Regions from separate parts of the Homo sapiens genome. Here region 1 is linked to region 2. Evidence: promoter capture Hi-C in human tissues and cell types (Jung and others, 2019). All regions are on one chromosome and are shown on one strand. The core of a region is centred on a gene start or on the middle of the fragment in contact, and the rest is flanking DNA. Distances in the headings are between cores, read along the strand shown. Region 1 overlaps KLHL9 (kelch like family member 9). Region 2 holds the start of IFNA13 (interferon alpha 13).

Region 1 (6,562 bases), core at 2,416-4,915, 38 kb after region 2:
CCAGATACAGATAAATGGATGCAAAAGGCTCCAATGACTACAGTCAGAGGTCTGCATTGCATGTGTACAGTTGGAGATAAGCTCTATGTCATTGGTGGCAATCACTTCAGAGGAACAAGTGATTATGATGATGTTCTAAGCTGTGAATACTATTCACCAACCCTTGACCAGTGGACCCCAATTGCCGCCATGTTAAGAGGCCAAAGTGATGTTGGAGTTGCCGTCTTTGAAAATAAAATCTATGTTGTTGGTGGATATTCTTGGAATAATCGTTGTATGGTAGAAATTGTCCAGAAATATGACCCAGAAAAAGATGAGTGGCATAAAGTTTTTGATCTTCCAGAGTCACTTGGTGGCATTCGAGCCTGTACACTCACAGTTTTTCCACCTGAAGAAAACCCTGGGTCACCTTCTAGAGAATCACCTCTTTCAGCACCTTCAGATCATTCTTAGGTCTAAGGTGTAACACCTTTGCAGTACGTCATGGGTGATCTAATACTTCCCCTTCAGTTGTATCTTCTTACAGTGATTGGTACAGTTATTAGATATAAAGGTAACTGATGTTATTCGTCTTGTATGGCTTTTAGTATGTTTATCAAGTGGCTAACAAATGCATTCTGAAAATGTATTTAACATAGCTGTTTTAACAAATGAAAAAAAGACGTAGAAAAATGTTTAGATGTCTTTTTGTGATGTTATATAAAATTGTAGATGACTGTGGTAAATGTGTAATTATGTCCATTATGCTTCAAAGTTGAGTTTTCATCTTTGACTCCAAAATGTCAGAGGGAGGCCGCTCTAAACTAAAAATAACGAAAGGTTGCCAAGTATTAATACTAGTTACCTCCCTCTTTTCGTAGTTTTTGTCATGTCTGTCAACTTACTCGATTGTGTGGTTGCATTCAGAATATTTGAAGTTTCTTACGTAGACAGAAATAATAAAAATATTAACTAGGAAAAAACAGTATAGCACCAAGCCAGTATTTGGTATCTCTCTCTAGAGCGAGCAAGAGAGGGAGAGAGGAGGAAAAAATACACATAATACAAACATACATGCATGCACACATACATACATATGTATACACACACATAATTTGAAAACTGATTGGCACTTCAACGATGCTGAAATTGTTTTTAAATTGAAGTTTCTTTCTTCCACAAAGCAGCCGTTTCTATTCAAATGGAAATTCAGTACCAGAGAATAAATGTCTATGTAGTCATACTGAATTTAGATAGATAAGGGCTACAGCATACTAAATCGACAACCAAATTTGTCATGTGACTAAACCGTTACTTCAGATGAAGCTTACATTACTGTTTTCTGCTTGTGTATTTTCTGTAGAGTACTTTTACACAGATTGGTAAAGTTCAGGTTTCAGAGAACTGCTTTTGTGCAGAAAATTTAGGTTCTTTTTTCCACCTTTTTGGTCAGTAAAACTTAATGAAAAAAGCAAAGAAAAAAATATTCTGAACAAAGCTATAGGGTTTTAAGTTCAGCCTCCCAACTTAGTCATCCTAACATGATTATTTTGTGATTTGGGGTGCTTGCCCTGGTGCTGTTCCAGTCCATGTGCATCCTGAGCTGTGTGATCTGCCTCGAGGCTATGATCTGAGCAAGCAGGAGATAACATTTTCTTCTGCATCAAGTGAGGAAAAATGTGCTTTTGGCCATGTCTCAAAGACAGGACCAACTTCAGATTCCCAAAGAAGCCAGCTACAGAGCCTCTGGAACACTATGGTCTTACAAGCAGTACTAAAATCAACCCTCAGCCTCTTCAATGCCAAAGGTATCCCTATTGGTTGAGAACCACATGGTAATTTTTAATGGGACTTTTATCAGCAAATGGAGTTACAGGAATTCTCTGTAATGAGTGATTCTGAAGAGGTACTTTCCTGGAATAATTGTCTACCTGAAGAAAAAAAATTTATATATACATTGTGTGTGTGTGTAATACACACACACAACCCCCTATACCTGGAAGATTGTCAGCATGTAAATCAGGAACAACTTTCTCCTTATTGACAATCCCATAATAAAACTCAGGAACCAAGGCAAAATGAATTGGCTTCTAGGGGTCTGAACCTTACTGCCCATACAAGTGTTGATTCATTTTAATGCTGTTTATGATTTCTGCATTGGCAGAAATTTTCATACTTTCTATGTTTTTTTAATTACTCAGTTTTTTATTACTAAAAATAGCACATTTGAGTACATTTGAAAAGTAGAAAAATTAGAAATTATTAACTTTATTGAATAAGCAAGAAGTGCATCCTAATCCTTTGATTATTAATGAGGTTGAATATTTGTGTGCTATCGGTAGCTGTGTTTCTTTGATCAGATGTTCCTGTCCTTTTGCCCTTCTGTTATCTGTTGGAGTTGCTTTGTTTTTCGTATCAAGTTATAGGATCTCTTTATATAATAAATGTAATTTAACTTGCATTTGCTTGCATTTATTTCTTCCCTCAATCTGTTGTAGTTTTACAAAGGCAACGCTGTTCAGTTAATTTTTGAGATCAAATTTGTCTTTTTTTTTTTTTGAGACAGGGTCTCACTGTTGTGCAGTCTGGAGTGCAATGGCACGATGTGTGCTCACTGAAACCTCTGCCTCTCATGTTCAGGCGATTCTCCCACCTCAGCCTCCCGATTAGCTGGGATTACAGGCATGTACCACCAAGCCCGGCTAATTTTGTATTTTTAGTAGAGATGGGGTTAGGGGATAATTTTGATATGGTTTATTTTTTATGTAGTATTTCAGTGCTTATTCTGACATATCAAGGTGATACTGCCCTGCCTCTATTTTGTACAGGCTTTTCCTTTTATTGAAAAAAAGTACTTTTTATTACATCTTATGTCTGAACCTGGTGCTTCCTATTGAAATAAGTATTGCTTTACTAGGTAAACTGCTCTATCTACATCCCCCACCTCCAGCTTCACCCACCCTGCCTCTCATTTTTTTACTTTCCCGTATTCTGCAGTTGACAGTTCTCTTGGTAATCATACAGGTAGCTGACTAATGCTATGCTAATACAGGTTGAGCAGCCCTAATCCAAAAATCCAAATTGCTCCAAAATTTAAAACTTTTTGAGGGCCAACAGGATGCCACAAGTAGAAAATTCCACACCAGAGCTCATGTGACAGGTTACACTCAAAACACAGTGAAGACTTGTTTCATGCACAACATTATTAAGACTATTATAATTACCTTCAGACTACGTGTCTGAAACGTGAAATATAACCGAAGTTTTAAGTAATATTGTTTAGACTTGGGTCCCTCCCCCAGGATACGTCATGTACATGCAAATATTCCAAAATCCAAAACACTTCTGGTCCCAAGCATTTCAGATAAGGGATATTCAATCTGTACTGCTCATTAAACCTGGAGTTTCTTATAGAGAGAAATTTTAGGTGGTTGAAATGATTAAATGGAAAGAGATTTATTTTCATAAGCTGGTAATTTTTTAAAGAAAGTTCAGACTGGAAAAATATTTAGAGGATAAAAACTAAAAGCACATAAAGCATTATGTTAACATTTCTTGTTTTAGTTTTTCGGAAAGTATTCAAAAATTAACATTTGTTAGCTTTTTTGATATGTCTATTATAGAACGTACAGGAAAATAAAAGCAAACTAATTTATCAGTGATTCCACATGTTGAAGATAATTTCTATTAATAGTATATTATATATATATATATACGTACATATGTGCAGGCATTTGTCAAATATTTTTCAAGTATGCCAGACCTTAGGCTAAAAGCTGGATAATGAAAATAAATCCACCTTCCAAAGACTCCTATTATCATGACTTTCTCTTATTTTTTAAAAAGCTGTATATATTAAAAAATCATAAGGTGTTTTTTTCTAATTATCAAATGCACATGTATTTAGAAAAACAGATTCCATTTTTATTCAGATAAATCCAGACTTAAATTTCTTTCCCACTTGCTTACAGTAATATTTATGTAGTTGGCCTGCAAAGCAAACACATTTCACTCATGTTCAGATTTTTGTAATCAAAATTATTTTGTTCTCACTATAAAGGCAGTAAGCTCCTACAGGACATTTTAAAACTACATAAATGTGCCATCCCCAGCTCAACCGATTATAAACAACTGCCGAAAGATTGTGGGGTAAGTTTAACTCTCTAAAACTTCAGCTTTGTCATACATCTATCAGGTTGGGTGTGATCATTAATAATTCTATTTATATCAGATTTGTAAGGAAATAATATAAAGCGATTAGCATAAGATATGCACAAAAGCAGTGAATGATAGTTGTTACTAACAAAGTTGGGATTTTATAATTTTTGACTTTTGCTTCAGCTTAATGATTTTCAGGCTATTGTTCTTTGAAAGTGTTCAGCGTCTATACAATATTTCATTCCATGAACATGCCAAATTATTCCATTTCCTTATGTGTAGATATTTAAATGTCTACCATAAATTTTCACCATAATAAAGCAAGATGTAATATTCTTACATAAAACTTTGCCCATAGCTACTACCCTATGATAAATGCTAAGTAAAATCGGAATCATGTAGTGTTAGCTTTTTTAGGGTCTTAAAAAATATTTCCAGGATTATACCATATGCATTTTTAGCAGAACTGTGTTCAGTAACTATTTCAAAGGAAATCTTTGCAGTTCTAGTTATTTCACTGTTTGGATTTACATATCTTTAATTACTAGTTATAATTTCTTGTTTATTGAGCATGTGTATTTTTCATAAATCATTTGCTCCTGTCTTTTGCTTTAATTGTCCTATTTGCTATAAATACTTTTTTATACTCTACTTTTTTATTCAATTTAATATGATCAAGTATGTTCGTCTTTTTTGTATGTTGACCTTTCGGTGATATTTTTGTTTTTTTTAATTTGGGGTGTGTGTGTGTGTGGTGGTGGTGGTGGTTGTTATATAGTACTGATGTGGTATTACTTGTTCTTGATACTATAGCTCTATAGCTTTGTGATTACTAGTTCTTGACATGTTAGGGTGGCATTTACTGCTTGTCTCCTGTTCAAGTAGCTTTTCTTTCTAGTTAAAATGAGAATGAGATTTTCCTTAAAATTAATAAACTTACCTTTTTATATTGAGATTAATCATTCATTTTTTTTTGAGATGGGGTCTCGCTATGTTGACCAGGCTGTTCTTGAACTCCTGGTCTCCAGTGATCCTCCTATTTCAGCCTCCCAAAGGGCTAGAATTACAGGTGTGAGCCACTGCAACTGGCTATATTAAGATTAATCTTTATTCTCTATTTACAGCAAGTATTTGCCCACTTGTGTTCTGTGAGCAAAGAAATCAAGTGTTTTTCCTTTGTAACGTAGCACAATTAGTTTTTTTGTCATTTTAATGCTTTCTTGAATAATTTTTTTATCATTAGGTGGCATAATTATCCCAGTATTTTATGTTGTTATTATTGATACAACTTTCTACCAAACTTTTGGCATAAAATCTAATGTATTTTTCAAATTACCTAATTTTTCCATAACCACTTTTTGAATATCTTCATTTCCTTGCTGAATTTTTATGCTTTAAAAAAAATCATAAAATCTTATAGTCAATCAATTTAGAGTATTTTTCTTCACTTCCAATGATCTTTTTTCAAGTTAAGTTGTCTTTGATATATACGTGTGTGTGTGTGTGTGTTTGTGTATTTCTGCTTTGAATGGGATTTCGTTATGTTATATTCTGAACTCTTGGTAGAAGTAGGAAATATGTGGTTTTAGCATAATGGTTTTCTGTCTACCGACTCTCATTGATTCTTCAGTTTTTTGGGTCAATTCTCATATTTTCACCTTAACTAACCATTATCTGCATATTATAAAAGCCAATTTCATATTATTAGTTTAATGTGAAACATTAAAGCATGGTTCATACTTCCAGCAAAATTATAGTAGTGACCGAGGAATTGTGTCTTATGCGTAATTTTAATAGGGGTAATTCTAGTTTTAGGATTCCTTTGTTACAAGGAAATATCCTTGATCTTGTTCACGAAGTTCCTCATTAATTAGGAGTCTTAAAAAATTAGGGTTGTGTATCTTCATTACAAATGATTTCTGTACCAGCTGATCCAAATTTTTCTTAGTACCATCCATGGGCTGAAAGAAAGGCTATTTCTTCGCTGTGTGATCAGTGTGTCATTAACTACCCATTTCTTCATTTATTTAGTCAAATTTATTGAGATGATAATTTAATTTTTCTCATGTCAAATACTGAAAAAGAGTCTGTTTTTTAATTGTTTTCAACTGTTGGGTTAGAAAGGACTCTTACATATTGCTGAGTGCATTGTCAATTGGTTTACAGTTTAGAATGCAATTTGGCAAAAGTAGTAAAATGATCTTTCAAGTTTCATACCTTTTGGACAGTAAGTATATTTCTAGAATTAATAAGTGACAGAAAATAGGCCAGAAATAGTCATCTCAGCATGATACTATTATTTGCTTCCTAATAGGACCACATTAGACCTTCCATTAAAATACTTTTAAATGGATTTTTAAAGATTCTTCCCACCTTAATTTTGATACTTTATCTGCATCCTCTAGTATTCAATTGTTGAGCATAT
Region 2 (5,942 bases), core at 2,382-4,881:
TCCTCACGGTTTAACACCATCCCCCTGGTGGTGTCATGGTAAGAGTGAGTTATTCCAAGATCTGGTTGTTTAAAATTGTGCAGCACCTCCCCTGCTTCTCTCCTCCTGCTCCAGTCATGCAGGACATGCCTGCTTCCCCTTAGCCTTCTGCCATGATTGTAAGTGTCCTGAGGCCTCCGTAGCCATGCTTCCTGTATGGTCTGCAGAATCATGAGCCAATTAAACCTCTTTTCTTTCTAAGTTACCCAGTCTCAGGTTTTTCTGTATAGTAGTGCAAGAACTAATACACCTATTGTGATAGTTTTGACGCCTGTTGCAATACTTCTGAATAAGTCTTCTTTACTGTTATACCAAGTGTCAGCATAAATTTTTCTTTACCAGATCCTTAAATTAAGGCAGTACAATCAACACTGCAGCACACTCTGGTGACCTGCAACATAAAAAGCATCAACCAGCTGGCAAGTCAGGTGACTCAGGGTCTTTTGTCATCTCAGTCCTCATTCTCTAATGCCATGGACTATCCTAATTTCTCTAGAAGTGTTTCCATTTCCACACCTTTAATAATCCCTTTAGTCAACCTTTCCAGGTGTGCTCTCCCTGAGCTCTGAGCCTTAGTTCCTTGGTTTAGTTCTGATTTAGTTCATGTCTCTAGCCTGACAGTGACTCGTTCTTTCTTAAATTTGTGCTACACATGGGGAAATCTAAAGTATTGTGGATATTTGATTAAAAGAATAGTACTATGTAGAATTTTAAATTGACAGAAATATAAAGGGTTGATGAATATATTCACTGGGGTGAACAATATGTTTTACAAATATGTTCATGCTTATGATGGTGTATCCTCAAGAAGACAAAACTAGAATATAATGTGAAAGTAAAGTGGGGCCCAATTTAATTGTAATGTAACATGTTGGCATGGACAAATGGGGCATTTCAATGAAGAAGACAAATGGAAACTGAAGAGAAAGACCCTGTCATTACATAGTAAGGACTCTACTAGGAAAACATTGATTGTCCTAGAAATCAGCTCTGGTTCTTTTGTCCAGAAATAGTCCCAGAGAGCATGTAAGAAGTAAGACTTCAGAGCTGAATTTTCTCCATCCAAACTGTGGCTCCACAACTTAATAGCTCCCTGGGATTTCATTTTTTTTCTTTTGCATATGGGGATAATAGTAAAATCTATCACTGTGTGCTTTGGTCAGTGATATATCTAGTGAATAAATGGGGCTAGGTACATGGTAGACGTTCAGTAAATATGAAAAATGGATATTCTTTATTGATTAAGTAAGCATTGATTATGCAAGTGCTAAAAACAGTGTCTGACTGAAAATAAATAAAGACTTTCCACAATTTAGATATTTCATTCCTTCTTTTTTTAAGACGGAATTTCAATCTTGTTGCCTGGGCTGGGGTGCAAGTGGAGTGCAAAGGCATGATCTCAGCTCACTGCAACCTCCACCTCCTGGGTTTAAGCAATTCTTCTGCTTCAGCTGGGATTACAGGCATGTGCCACCACACCAGACTAATTTTGTATTTTTAGTAGAGACGGTGTTTCAAAATGTTAGTCAGGCTAGTCTCAAACTCCTGACCTCAGGTGATCTGCCCAGCTCGGCCTCCCAAAGTGCTGGGATTACAGGCGTAAGCCACCGCACCCGGCCTGATATTTCATTTCTCTTATTAACATTATCTTTATTATATAACTCTATTAAAAGTTAGGGAAGTGTCCTCTGAAATTATCAATTCTCTTGTTTCTTACTAGAAATATAAGAAGAAAAAAACTGACCTTCTAAGTTTACTTATCCAATAGTGGAGAGCTTGGTGCAATGAACACTGACCCATTTTCCAGAGAGAATATTGTACTCTCAAAAATTTCTCTTTCTTGTGTATAAACTCTTGCAGTTGGTATATTTGCAAGATGGGGTTCGGTAAATCTGAAAACACACTGTGGACCAGGAGTAATTACTTTTCTTCCAGCCCATACTTACGTGTTACCTTGACCTACATCCCTTCTACTATTTTGCTTCTGTTCTTTCCCACCCCTTAACCTCCACTATGTTGGTCAGGCTGGTCTCAAACTCCCAACCTCAGATGATCCGTCTGCCTCGGCCTCTCAAAGTGCTGGCATTACACATGTGAGCCACGACGCCCGGCCACTTGTGTTATCTTTTTGTTCCCATTAGTTAGGATGCAAAAAGTGACAACTTTTGCTTTCTATGAAAATGAAATGAGAAAGAAAGATATCTGGTGTCTGGCATGCTATGTAAAACAATTGTCTACTTATTTATGTTATTATATTTACATCCTATTATGCGCATCTAGGACAAAGATAGTTTCCTTTAGTTTGCTAGGAATCAGCAAAGAACCTCTGAAGGCACCTTGGAAATTTGAACTTTCATGCAAAAAATTTTTAATCAAATCGAGGATGTTTTTTCAATTGTGTATTCTCATTGCATATGATACTACTCCCAAGGATGTAGAAGTTAGTTCTTGGGAGTGGGAACAAATCTTACATATTTAAATGGTTTGTGGCCCTTCAAAGCTCAACCTATTTAACAAAATCTTATTCCTTAGTTTTTTTTTTTTTCTCTCCATTGGGTTTTCTTGTGTATCACATGAGAAGCACTGACATTGAGTTCATGGAAGATACACAAAAGGTATAAAAGTTCAGCATTACAAACCTATGGCAAATGGGTAGCTGTGATTGGAGTACTTTCCAAGATGTATTAGATCTCAAAGTCATATCATGAGAGGTGTCCTCTGCATACATATGGTTTGTCACTGGCCATCTTATAGATATTGCTTATGTTTGATCCTTAGCATTTCTGTCTGTGTTGTGGGCTTTGAAATGAAATATAAATAATTTATATTTTAACAATTCTACTGAAGTTGTTCAACACATCTATATTTAGGTCAAGAATTGAAGAAAAAATTCTTCACACTCTCTAGGTGAGTATCTAGCAGCTAGTGAAGTTAAAAATTTTCTCACATGCAACAAAATTAAAAGTTAAGTATAATAAAAATAAATGATAAAAATATTTTAAATTATTAAGTCTTTATCAGTTTCAAATAATTCATAAACATTCATTACTTAGCTGTATAATGTTTATCTAGAAACATTAGATAATGTTTATAATTTGTTAAATTTCTTATGTAATTTAATACATTACAATTTATATCAGTAAATAAACTATATTGAAGCCCACAAGCAAATTTAGTTATAAAGTTAAGTTAAATTTGAATAGCGTTTAAATTTAACTTTTATCTTAAAATTTTCATTTGGTTATTTTTAAACTTGCATTGAATAAAATGATTAAACTTTGTACTTTTTGAGTATAGAGATATACATATAGTACACAAATAGATAGATATTATATCTGTGTTATTAAATTTTCACGGTGGGTTCAATTAGGAAAAAAAATCTAAAAAGTCTCTGGGAACAAGATGGGGGAGACAATAATGAAAAACAAAATGGTTGAGAAACACGGCTCTAAACTCATGTAAAGAGTTCAAGAAGGAAAGCAAAAACAGAAATGGAAAGTGGTCCAGAAGCATTAAGAAAGTGGAAATCAGTATGTTCCCTATTTAAGGCATCTGCAGGAAGCAAAGCCTTCAGAGAACCTAGAGCCCAAGGTTCAGAGTCACCCATCTCAGCAAGCCCAGAAGCATCTGCAATATCTATGATGGCCTCGCCCTTTGCTTTACTGATGGCCCTGGTGGTGCTCAGCTGCAAGTCAAGCTGCTCTCTGGGCTGTGATCTCCCTGAGACCCACAGCCTGGATAACAGGAGGACCTTGATGCTCCTGGCACAAATGAGCAGAATCTCTCCTTCCTCCTGTCTGATGGACAGACATGACTTTGGATTTCCCCAGGAGGAGTTTGATGGCAACCAGTTCCAGAAGGCTCCAGCCATCTCTGTCCTCCATGAGCTGATCCAGCAGATCTTCAACCTCTTTACCACAAAAGATTCATCTGCTGCTTGGGATGAGGACCTCCTAGACAAATTCTGCACCGAACTCTACCAGCAGCTGAATGACTTGGAAGCCTGTGTGATGCAGGAGGAGAGGGTGGGAGAAACTCCCCTGATGAATGCGGACTCCATCTTGGCTGTGAAGAAATACTTCCGAAGAATCACTCTCTATCTGACAGAGAAGAAATACAGCCCTTGTGCCTGGGAGGTTGTCAGAGCAGAAATCATGAGATCCCTCTCTTTATCAACAAACTTGCAAGAAAGATTAAGGAGGAAGGAATAACACCTGGTCCAACATGAAACAATTCTTATTGACTCATATACCAGGTCACGCTTTCATGAATTCTGCCATTTCAAAGACTCTCACTTCTGCTATAACTATGACCATGCTGATAAACTGATTTATCTATTTAAATATTTATTTAGCTATTCATAAGATTTAAATTATTTTTGTTCATATAACATCATGTGCATCTTTACACTGTGGTTAGTGTAATAAAACATGTTCCTTATATCTACTCAATTCATTATTTTATGTTGTTCATTAAACTTTTACTATAGGAACTTCCTGTATGTGTTCATTCTTTAATACAAAATTCCTAGCCTGACTGTGCAACCTGATGAGAGAATAAAGGGTATAATTTATTTACTCATCATTATTATATGAGAGATGTAAGTAAAAATGACCTTTCTCTAAACCAGGTTGTATGTTGTACTCAAGTTATAAAGGTGAATACAATAAATCTACTTCCTACTCTCTTGCATGTTTGATTTTTGTATGGAATAAAACTAAAAATAGTAATCATACTTAGTATCAGTTATCCTGAATACTATAAGGAGAAAAAGGAATGAACAATGATTTCTTTCGGCAGGAGGTAAACTGAAACATGTGAGGAAATAAAAATAAACAGATATCCTCTATAAGTTGACTGATACAACATGTGGTAGAAACTGTCTATTGCCAGTTGGATATGTGAGTTTGCAAATTATAAGGAATGCAATTGCTGGGAGTTCATATGTGGCAAGCAAAATCCCAGAAATGAAAGTGCTCATGTGTGGAGAGAGTGTAGACAGAGAAAAGGACTTAAACGTGATTCTAAGGACCTTCCACCTTTAAAGGGAAGGAAGAGAAGAGCCACAAAGGAAACAGAGGGATGGACAAATAGAGACAATGGTGATTAATATGGTCTGGAACTGTGTCTCTGCCTAAATCTCAGGCAGACCAGCCTCTAGAATGTATGTGTGTGTGTGTGTGTGTGTGTATGTGTGTGTGTGTGTATATATATACGTACATATATATATATACGTATATATATGTATATATATACACACACACACACATACACACACACACTATATATATATTTTATATATAGTGTATATATATAAAACATATGTATATATGCTTATTTTCTTATTTTATAAATATATGGTTATTATTTTCTTAATTAGTGCATATATATCAGAAAAGGGACTGGGTGCAGTGGCTCATGTTTGTAATCTCAGCACTTTGGAAGCCAAGGTGGGTGGATCACTTGAGTTCAGGGGTTCAAGACCAGCCTGGACAATATGGTGAAACCCTGTCTCTACTAAAAACCAAAAATTTGGCCAGGCATGGTGTTGGGTAGCTGTGATCCCATCTATTCGGGAGGCTGAGGCAGGAGAATCACTTGAACCCCGGAGGCAGAGATGGCGCCTCTGCACTACAGCCCCTGGGCAATAGAACAATACTCCGTCCCCAAAAAAAAAAAAAAAAAAAAAGAAAAGAAAAGAAAAAAAAGAAAATGAGAAAACAGAAAAGGGAATGTTCTCTTCTCTCCTCAATCTCCATAACACATAAGAATCTAAAACGCAGAATTCTTGGAGTATTCTGGAGAAAACTGAAAAATAGTCACCCTTCGTACTGAAGATAAGTCTGATGTGTATATTCAGTCAGGATACGGTATCTTACAGGAAAATCTGGAAGAGTTTATTT

The links. The method cuts DNA at HindIII sites, captures the fragments that hold promoters and counts their contacts. A contact is called where the count stands out against the background at its distance.
Region 1: a fragment that was not itself captured here is called in contact with the fragment with the promoter of IFNA13 in region 2 in 1 of the 25 tissues and cell types used here (small bowel).

The regions. Positions count from the first base shown.
Region 1 is chr9:21,326,897-21,333,458 of GRCh38, reverse strand. It overlaps KLHL9 (kelch like family member 9), which reads left to right. Exons shown (of 1, transcript NM_018847.4): 1 at 1-3,794. The coding sequence ends at 453. All of the region lies in intron 2 of LOC107987053 (a long non-coding RNA gene), which reads right to left. Among named protein-coding and RNA genes, the nearest start is that of KLHL9, 5.2 kb to the left of the region's middle. The HindIII fragment of the contact is 7,144 bases long and covers 94-6,562 here.
Region 2 is chr9:21,365,746-21,371,687 of GRCh38, reverse strand. IFNA13 (interferon alpha 13) reads left to right here and starts at 3,631. Exons shown (of 1, transcript NM_006900.4): 1 at 3,631-4,316. The coding sequence starts at 3,678. The coding sequence ends at 4,250. The HindIII fragment of the contact is 15,253 bases long and covers 1-5,942 here.